Linked DNA regions of Homo sapiens: all the other regions are linked to region 1. Evidence: promoter capture Hi-C in 16 types of primary human blood cells and fetal thymus (Javierre and others, 2016). All regions are on one chromosome and are shown on one strand. The core of a region is centred on a gene start or on the middle of the fragment in contact, and the rest is flanking DNA. Distances in the headings are between cores, read along the strand shown.

The links. Contacts are between HindIII fragments. The CHiCAGO score rates a contact against its expected background, and 5 or more counts as called.
Region 2: a contact is called between the fragment with the promoter of CD163 here and a fragment that was not itself captured in region 1, in 4 of 17 cell types (endothelial precursors, activated CD4 T cells, fetal thymus and 1 more). The highest score is 6.5, in endothelial precursors.
Region 3: a contact is called between the fragment with the promoter of GDF3 here and a fragment that was not itself captured in region 1, in 9 of 17 cell types (M0 macrophages, naive CD4 T cells, naive CD8 T cells and 6 more). The highest score is 8.6, in M0 macrophages.

The regions. Positions count from the first base shown.
Region 1 is chr12:7,235,826-7,238,853 of GRCh38, forward strand. It overlaps the pseudogene LOC100420983. Among named protein-coding and RNA genes, the nearest start is that of PEX5, 48 kb to the left of the region's middle. The HindIII fragment of the contact is 179 bases long and covers 1,182-1,360 here.
Region 2 is chr12:7,502,382-7,505,245 of GRCh38, forward strand. It overlaps CD163 (CD163 molecule), which reads right to left and starts at 1,396. Exons shown (of 17, transcript NM_203416.4): 1 at 1,264-1,396; 2 at 97-183. The coding sequence starts at 1,309. The HindIII fragment of the contact is 3,696 bases long and covers 1,255-2,864 here.
Region 3 is chr12:7,694,280-7,697,397 of GRCh38, forward strand. GDF3 (growth differentiation factor 3) reads right to left here and starts at 1,496. Exons shown (of 2, transcript NM_020634.3): 1 at 1,182-1,496. The coding sequence starts at 1,449. The HindIII fragment of the contact is 5,455 bases long and covers 1-1,845 here.

The sequences.
Region 1 (3,028 bases), core at 21-2,520:
AAACATACTAGCCCACCTAACAAGGAACATATAAATGGAATATATTTCACAACCACGTGGGATTATACCAGAAATACAAAATTGGTTCAAACTATGAAAACCAATTAATATACCATATTAGTAAAACAAAGGACATAAATCACCTGATCATCTGAGTAGATGCAGAAAAATCATTGACAAAATTTAACACCTATTTATGGTAACAACCCTCAACAAACTAGCAATGAAAGGGAACTTTCTCAACCTGTTAAAGGACATATACAGAAACCCCACAGCTCACATCATACTCAACAGTTAAAGACTGAAAGTGCTCCCATTGAGATCAGGACTTACAAGAATATTCACTCTTGCCACTTCTATTCAACATAGAGGTGTTCTATCCAGGGCATTTAGGCAAGAAAAAGAAATAGCATCCAAATTGGAAAAGAAAAAGTAAAACTATCTCTATTCAACAGATAACATCACAATGTATATAGAAAATCCTGAGGAATACATACATACAAACACATACACACACTATTAGAGCTAATAATTGAGTTCATCAAAGTTGCAGGATATAAGATCAATATATAAAAATTATATCAACTGTATGTCTATATAATATCAATAAACAATCAAAAAATAAAATTCATAGAACAATTTCATTGAAAATAGAATCAGTTTTTAAAAATCTCATTTAAAATTGTATTCTCCAGATAATTTATCTAATTTACTAGACTTAGTACTAAATGCCACTTTTTTCCCTAAAGTCTAAAGTTTGCCATCAAAGTATGAAGATCTACTATCTCTGAGCACCTTCTGATCCTTAGAGCTGGTGCTTCCTATATAAAAGTTTCAAAGTATTCAGCAAGGATAATAAATTCAAGATGAGTATGAAGATTGCTTTCCAAGGTGATAACCTGGAAGGTTGTGGCCTCAAAATTGAGGTAGCATCTCAGTCCACTTTTTAACTCATGTCACATTACTTCACGGTCATATCCTCTATTTTAGTCAATAAAGAAGCCACTCAGCTGAAATAACTCATTATTTTCAAATTTTTTTTTTATTTGCTCCCAACCTGCCTTCCAATCCTTGAAAGGAAAAAATAACACCACCTCCTATACTGTTATAAAACTGCCAAATCTGTTTTTAAAATTTCATGTTTTTTATATTTATTTTCTTAAACATTTGATGACTAATTAAGCTTCCTGGTTGGAAAGGCCTTCCCGAGATGCTGGTTTCTTAAAACTTTGTACTAACCAGGCACTGGAGCCCTTACCTGTATCACCTTATTTCATCCTCACAATAAAGCTATACAGTAGGTGCATTTTTAAATCTCTGCTTTTCTAGATGAGGAAACTGAGGTTCAGAGAAGCATCCAAGCTTCTCAAAGTCAGAAGGTGTCAGAGTGGACATGCAAACCCAAATGTTTCCAGCTCTGGCACCCTCACACTCACCACCCAACCACACCCCTCTTAGGTTGCCCAGTTTCTAGGTACACTGACCAAGCACTTTCCTGGAATATTGAATGGGGGTAGTAAGGCTTAAGTTTAGATCCTGTGTTTAGATCTGGTAGGAAGAGCACAAATGGTTTGTAAGGAAAATCCCTTTAATGGTTACCTAATTTCAGATTGTGGGTGAAAACTCAAATATCCTGTCTCTAGGGGAAGAAGGAAATATTACAATTCATATAAAACTAAACCAACCTGTTTCTCTGTACTGTCCACACATGGTAAGAAAAGTTTCTTTTTCTCTAAATACTTTCATTGTTGCTACTAATCATAGTGCCATTGTTTTTGAGTACTTTATGATTTGTCAAGTACTTTTGTCCCAACTTTTAATTTTGCAAATTTTTGAGTCTACAAGTGTCAAAATAGTAGCACAATGAACACCTACTTGTACATCTCTCACCTATATTCACTTATTATTAAAATTTTGCCTCATTTACTTTATATTTGCTTTTTTCTTTCCTTTTTTGAGACAGAGTCTCACTCTGTCACCCAGACTGGAGTGCAGTGGTGCGATCTCTACTCACTGCATCCTCCGCCTCCTGGGTTCAAGTGATTCTCCTGCCTCAGCCTCCCGAGTAGCTGGAATTACAGGCACCCACCACCATGCCTGGCTAATTTTTGTATTATTAGTAGAGACGGGGTTTCACCATGTTGGCCAGCCTGGTCTCAAACTCCTGACCTCAAGTGATTGGCCCACCTTGGCCTCCCAAAGTGCTGGGATTACAGGCATGAGCCACTGCACCCGGCCTATTTGTATATTTTTAATGAGACATTTGGGAGTAAGTGCAGACATTATGATACTTTGTTCTTAAATATTTCAGCAGCATTCTCTGAAGAACAAAGATTTTCTTCTTAATCATCAGCATTATTACATCTATGAAAATTAAAAATAATTCTTTAATTCTATCTAATATCCAGCCAATATTTAGATTTTCTCAGTTGTACTCGAATGTGTTTTACAGCTTTGGTAAATCCAGAATTCAATCAAGGTTCATTTATTTATTTGGTTCTCATATCTCCTTAGTTATTTTTATCTAAAACTGTCCCACCACCATTGTTTGTTTTTCATGACATGGACATTTTGAAGAGTAGAGGACTGTTGTGTTAGAAAATGCCTCACTTTCTAATTTCCTTATAATGAGATCCGAGATAAACATCTTTCTCAAGAATGTTATGTAGGAAATGTGTAGTTCTTATTTGCTTATATTGAGGAAACATTGTGTTGTCTCGTTTTGGATACTGACAGTTTTGATCTTTCGATTAAAGAGGTGACTGCCATTTCTCTCCATTGTAAAGGTATATTTTCCTCTTTGTAATTAGTATGTAATCTGTTGTGTAATAATTTGAGACTGCGTAAGTATCCTATTCTCCAGTTAACTTTCACCCAACTATTTTAGCATCCATAGATGATTCTTTTCTTTTCAGAATCAATTATTAAAATAGAGAGTGGCTGGGCACAGTGACTCAAGCCTGCAATCTCAGCACTTTGGGAACCTAAGGTGGGCAGATCACTTGAGCCCAGGGCATCAAGACTAGCC
Region 2 (2,864 bases), core at 146-2,645, 270 kb after region 1:
TTTAGATGCTACTTGGCCTTCAGAAAAATTGTTTGCCTTTTAACTGTTCTTGTCAGAGTGGGCTAAGGCTGTAAGTAAATTTGACAAAGTACTCACCAAGAGAACTGGTGACAAAACAGGCACTGAGAAGTAAGACCACAGTAATGGTGAAGGGACTCAAGTTGACAAAATGTCTTCTGAAGTCTGTGAAAAAGAAAAGAGGGCAAAAGTAGCATCTTCCCAAAAAGAGACTTTGGAGAAGATAGATGGTTTCAGAGGTTAATTAACAAAGAAGCTCAAACCAAGACAGAAAACTCTTCATTCTAAATTGCAAGGCAGGCAGAAAACATTCATACCCAGGCTCATATAGTTTCAGTGAAATGGTTTTGAAAATGTTCATGTTTATAGGCAACCTAGAGGTGACGGATTAGCAGAAGGTTGGTGGTGGAAACGAGAATTGCAAGGTCAACCCTTAAAACCTGGAAAATGGAAACAACATCAATGAAACTTAGTAGTGGACAATTCTCCCAGCAGGCACAGGGAAGGTATCCTGAGATTTCTCTATTCCCTAACCACCTTGATATTCAATTATGGATGCCCCCATCTTTAAGACTACCTAGCCGCACTGATAGAGGATAAGTTCCATGAGTAAACGAATTATATCTATCATGTTCACCATAATTTCACCAGTACCTGGCTTGATGCTTGCCAAATAGTAGCTAGCAGAACAATACCTAAGTGATGATATCCATATCTGAAAAACTCAAATATTAAATCTTGTCATCTCTACCTGTATCCTTATCACATAATACACTCTTTAATGCTGTTATTACTCTCATATCTTCTCGTTACTCTAACCCAACACTAATTTAAAACTAAAAATGCTAAATGATTTTAACATGTCCAAATAAGTCTTAAAATAGATAACTCACTTATCAGAGTAGATAACTTTCTTTATGTAATTAACTCTCTATCAATATTCCTTTCTGCATATTCTATCTTTTCTAACAACTATTTTTTCATACTCAGTACATTTCAGTTAACTTTAGTTCCTGACTTAATTTCACCTCAGCAGTTTTACAAAATTAATGCCGACTCTGATTCCCATATCACATCTTCAATTTTGAATCTATGGCAGATCAAAGGTGCTGCCATATAAGCCTATGTCCTTTTTCCACTCCTTACTCTCCTGATGCCAATCACTTTTAAATCACATCCATTGACTGTCATAATAATTACATACCCCATTAAAGGGGAAATGTAGAATAAATGAGAAGCTTTTACCAGCAGATCCAGAGTCTTCAAGTAGCACCATTCTGAGTTTGCTCATTCCAAAGATTTATAACTTCAATGATTCCTAAATCTTCTTGTATTATTCCCTAGAAATGTTCTTCTAAAGAAAACAACTAAGAATTCTAAAAATCACTTCACTTTCATGAAAATGAAAAGGCTACATATGGAGGCGGAGTCAACTCAAAAAGGGAAGTCATTGAAAGAGCTGAGGTTCCATTTCATACTCATGTTTTCTTCAATATAGCACATGAAACAACCAAAGGAAATTGGGAAACACTTCCCACAGATTTCGAAAAATTAGAGGAAATACTAACTCATATGCTGCTGTTGCTGAATTAAATATTTTACATTTTTGAACTTCATTTTGGACAAATATATAAGACACAAAAAATTACTAATTGTCATGTAGAAAAATTATGTAAAAAACTAAAGCAAAACAGGCAAAACATAATTAAATAACATTTTATCATATGCACTTTTAATTTTATTTCCATAATCAAATGTGTCTAATGAGTAATTTTGTGTAAGTTGTTGAGACACAGCATTTGTCATTTCTTTTCTAATGGGATGAAGTACACCAAGAGAATTAGCCATGACTATTACTGATATTACAAATGGTGAAACAAAAATTAGCAACACATGATTTTAGCTCTATATAACTCAGATTCAAGTAAGAGAAACACATATGATAACAACAATGAACATAAAGCTAAAGTGCAGTGTTAAAAATAATGGACAAAGTAGTCCTATCTATTGAGAGAAAGGAATGAACAGTCAGAAAACTATTTTCTCTGAGGACAGGCTTAAATTGTGTCCTAAAAGATGAGAAAAACATTGCCAAAGGGACAAATGATAAAGGAGTTTAAGGCATAAAAAATAGCACATACAAATGAATATTTGTATATAAAAACATATAAGCTCAAAAGAACTACTAATAGTTCATCATGGCATACATATTGTCAGGTGTTAGTGATGGGCCTGAAATGGGGAATTAAAGAGCAACTCCAGCCTTCCAGAGAGACATTCACTAGAACCCAGTCAACAAAGGCACCCCAGTTTTCTTCCACTTCTCAGGCATGCCAAATCTCTCCCTGCCTCATGGTATGTCATACATATTGTTCCTTCTGTGTTTACTGCCTCCCTACCCGTACCTTTCTCTAAGATAACTCTCACTCACGTATACTTTATTTCTCAGTTAAACCTCCCTTCACTAGGAGAAATAACTCTAACGCTGAAAGACCCCAGAAAATATGCACTCATGATAGCCTGTACTTATGAGGGTTGTCAATTATATATATATTTTTTTCCTTTTTTTAAATTATTATTATACTTTAAGTTTTAGGATACATGTGCACAACATGCAGGTTTGTTACGTATGTATACATGTGCAATGCTGGTGTGCTGCACCCATTAACTCGTCATTTAGCATTAGGTATATCTCCTAATGTTATCCCTCCCCCCTCCCCTGACCCCACAACCGTCCCTGGAGTGGGATGTTCCCCTTCCTGTGTCCATGTGTTCTCATTGTTCAATTCCCACCTATGAGTGAGAACATGTGGTGTTTGGTTTTTTGTCCTTGCGATGGTTTGCTG
Region 3 (3,118 bases), core at 246-2,745, 460 kb after region 1:
GGGCTGGGTGCGGTGGCTCAGGCCTGTAATCCCAGCAGTTTGGGAGGCTGAGGCAGGCGGATCACCTGAAGTCAGGAGTTCAAGACCAGCCTGGCCAACATATAGTGAAACCCTGTCTCTACTAAAAAATTAAAAAATTAAAAAATTAGCTGGGCTTGGTGACACACGCCTGTAATCCCAGCTACTTGGGAAGCTGAGGCAGAAGAATCACTTGAACCCAGGAAGCGGAGGTTGCAGTGAGCTGAGAAAGTGCCACTCTACTCCAGCCTGGGGGACAGAGCGAGACTCTCAAAAAAAAAAAAAAAAAAAAAAGGCAAACTTTATCTTGTATTCTCAAGGCCATACACAGTTCCTGGCTCACCATAGGTATCCAATAAGTGCTTCTTGGACAAATAAATATTCAAATCTTCTCTCCAGTTGCTGTAAAACTAACCAAGGCTCTAAATTCTGCATCTGAAACACCCGGGAGGTTGTATAGACATGCAGATTCTCAACACCCATTTCAGACTTTGAATAAGAATTGGGTGGGGAGAACTAGGGGCAGGAATGGGGTTGGAGGATCTACTGTTAATGGAAGACCTAAGTTATTTGGTGGGTGGTCAGTTTGGGAAAGTACTGGATCCCACTCACTGAGATCCTTTTAAAAGGATATGACAGTTGTATATATTATTGCTCTCTATTCACAAATCTAGAATAACCTTTGCCACCCAACAAGAGTAGCCAGGAGGTACAAATAAGGGAAGCAGGACTCCTGGGCAAACCAACCTCAAAATTTTCATACCCTGCTTGCCACATGGAAGACGGCAGGATGTGTATATATGGGCTGCAGGGTGGGAGACTGAGCTCTGATTCCTCCCTCACCTCTTTCATCTCAACTGAAGCACAAAGCAGTTGATTCAGAAAACAAAAACCTATTTCAAATCCTGACTTTGTTCTCACACACTAGCTGTATGATCTTGAATAGATTACAGGTTACCTACTGTCTGAGCCTAATTTCCTTACTGTTAGGAACTTGATAAGAATATCTAACTTCCTCTCAGGATCGTGGCTGGAATTAAATGAGACAAAATATGAAAAATACCAGCACAAGGCCATCAGTAATTGTCATTTCCTATTGTCCTTTCCTTTCTTCACACCACCCAGTTCCAGATGTTTTTCTGGATAACACTCTATTTCCTTACCTTGGTCTGGGAGAAAGCGAAGTACATTCCCGCGGACGCCCAGCTCCTTTACGTAGCATAAGTCTCGGGAGACCCCAGTGGTCGCTGCTGCCTCGCGATCCTGGAAAATTTTCTTCAAGATATAAGGCACAGGTTGGAACTTCTGGGGTGAAGGCGCCTTATCTAAGCCCAGAAATTGGAGAAAGACATATTCTTGAAATTGGACTGCCTGGCCCAAAGCCAGAATTAACAGGAAGCTGAAAGCCAAATCTGGCAAGAAACGAAGCATGGCCTCTGGAGTGGCTGTCAGACCGGGGAGAGCTCCACTGCCAGACTGCCCAACAATTCAGAGGCTGCTAATTTATCTGATGTAAGATAATCAAGTGTGAATTGCTCTCTTCCCAGCTCCTCAAAGGCCATTGGATGTGAAGAGGGAATTTTTTTTTCTCTTCTCTTGCTCTACTCTTCCAGGAAAAAGTTCACAGAACAAAGATTACCAATGCATGGACATAAATTCTACAACAATGTGAGGTTGTCAGCAGTAGACAGAGTGAAAAGGAGACATGCATTTATTCATTTAACAAACAGTTACTAAGCATCTATTATGTGCACGGTGCTGAGATAGGTGCTAGGAATAGAGCAGTGAATAATTCATAGACTTGTAATTAATCATCTACATAGACCAAGCTTGTCCAACCTGCGGCCGGAGGGTCACATGAGGCTCACGATGGCTTTGAATGCAGCCCCACACAGATTCATAAACTTCCGTAAAACATTATGAAACTTTCTTGTGATTTTTTTAAGCTCATCAGCTATCATTAGTGTTAGTATATTTTACGTGTGGCCCAAAACAATTCTTCTTCTTCCAATGTGACCCAGGGAAGCCAAAAGATTGGACACCCCTGGATTAGACAAATACTCAAGTAGATTTCATTATTTTATTTTTATTTTTATTTTTATTTATGTATTTATTTATTTTTGAGACAGGGTCTCGCTCTGTTGCCCAGGCTGGAGTGCAGTGGCCTGATCTTGGCTCACTGCAAGCCTCGACCCCCTGAGCTCAAGAGATCATCCCACCTCAGCCTCTGGAGTAGTTGAGACTACAGGCATAGGGCACCACTTCCAGCTAATTGTTTTATTTTTTACAGAGATGGGGCCTTGCCATGTTGTCCAGACTGGTCTTGAACTCCTGGTCTCAAGCAGTCTTCCCACCTCGGCCTCCCAAAGTGCTGGGATTGTAGGCATGAGCCACTACACCCAGCCGCCAGCCTTGTTTCTCACCACCCACCATCCTTAGTGTGGATGCTCTAATTACATTGACCTATTTGTAGCTCTGTGAGCTCATTTCATCTCAGAGCCTTTACACAGACCAAGTTCAAAGGTCACCTCTACTTCCACAGTTTCGACTCACCAAAATAGATTGAGATACTTCTTTCTCCCACTGAGCCATACTTGGGCATCCATTACAGTTTTTTTGTTTTTTTGTTTTTTTTGAGACGGAGTTTCGCTCTTGTTGCCCTGGCTGCAGTGCAATGGCACGATCTCAGCTCACCACAACCTCTGCCTCCCAGGTTCAAGCAATTCTCCTGCCTCAGCCTCCCTAGTAGCTGGGATTACAGGCATGCGCTACCATGCCCGGCTACTTTTGTATTTTTAGTAGAGACGGGGTTTCTCCATGTCGGTCAGGCTGGTCTCAAACTCCTGACCTCAGGTAATCCACCCACCTCGGCCTCCCAAAGTGTTGGGATTATAGGTGTGAGCCACTGCACCCGGCCCTCCATTACAGTTTCTGCAGTGCATTTTACTGTGTTTGCCTCCTTCCTTTTCAGACAACTCACACCTTGAGGATCAGAACTGTGTCTCTTTGCCTAAGTATCTTCAGTGTGTCTTTTTCCCCAAAGTATCTCCACTGGTGAAGAAAGTGTCCGGCAGGTAGCAGACATTTGATAAGTATCTGT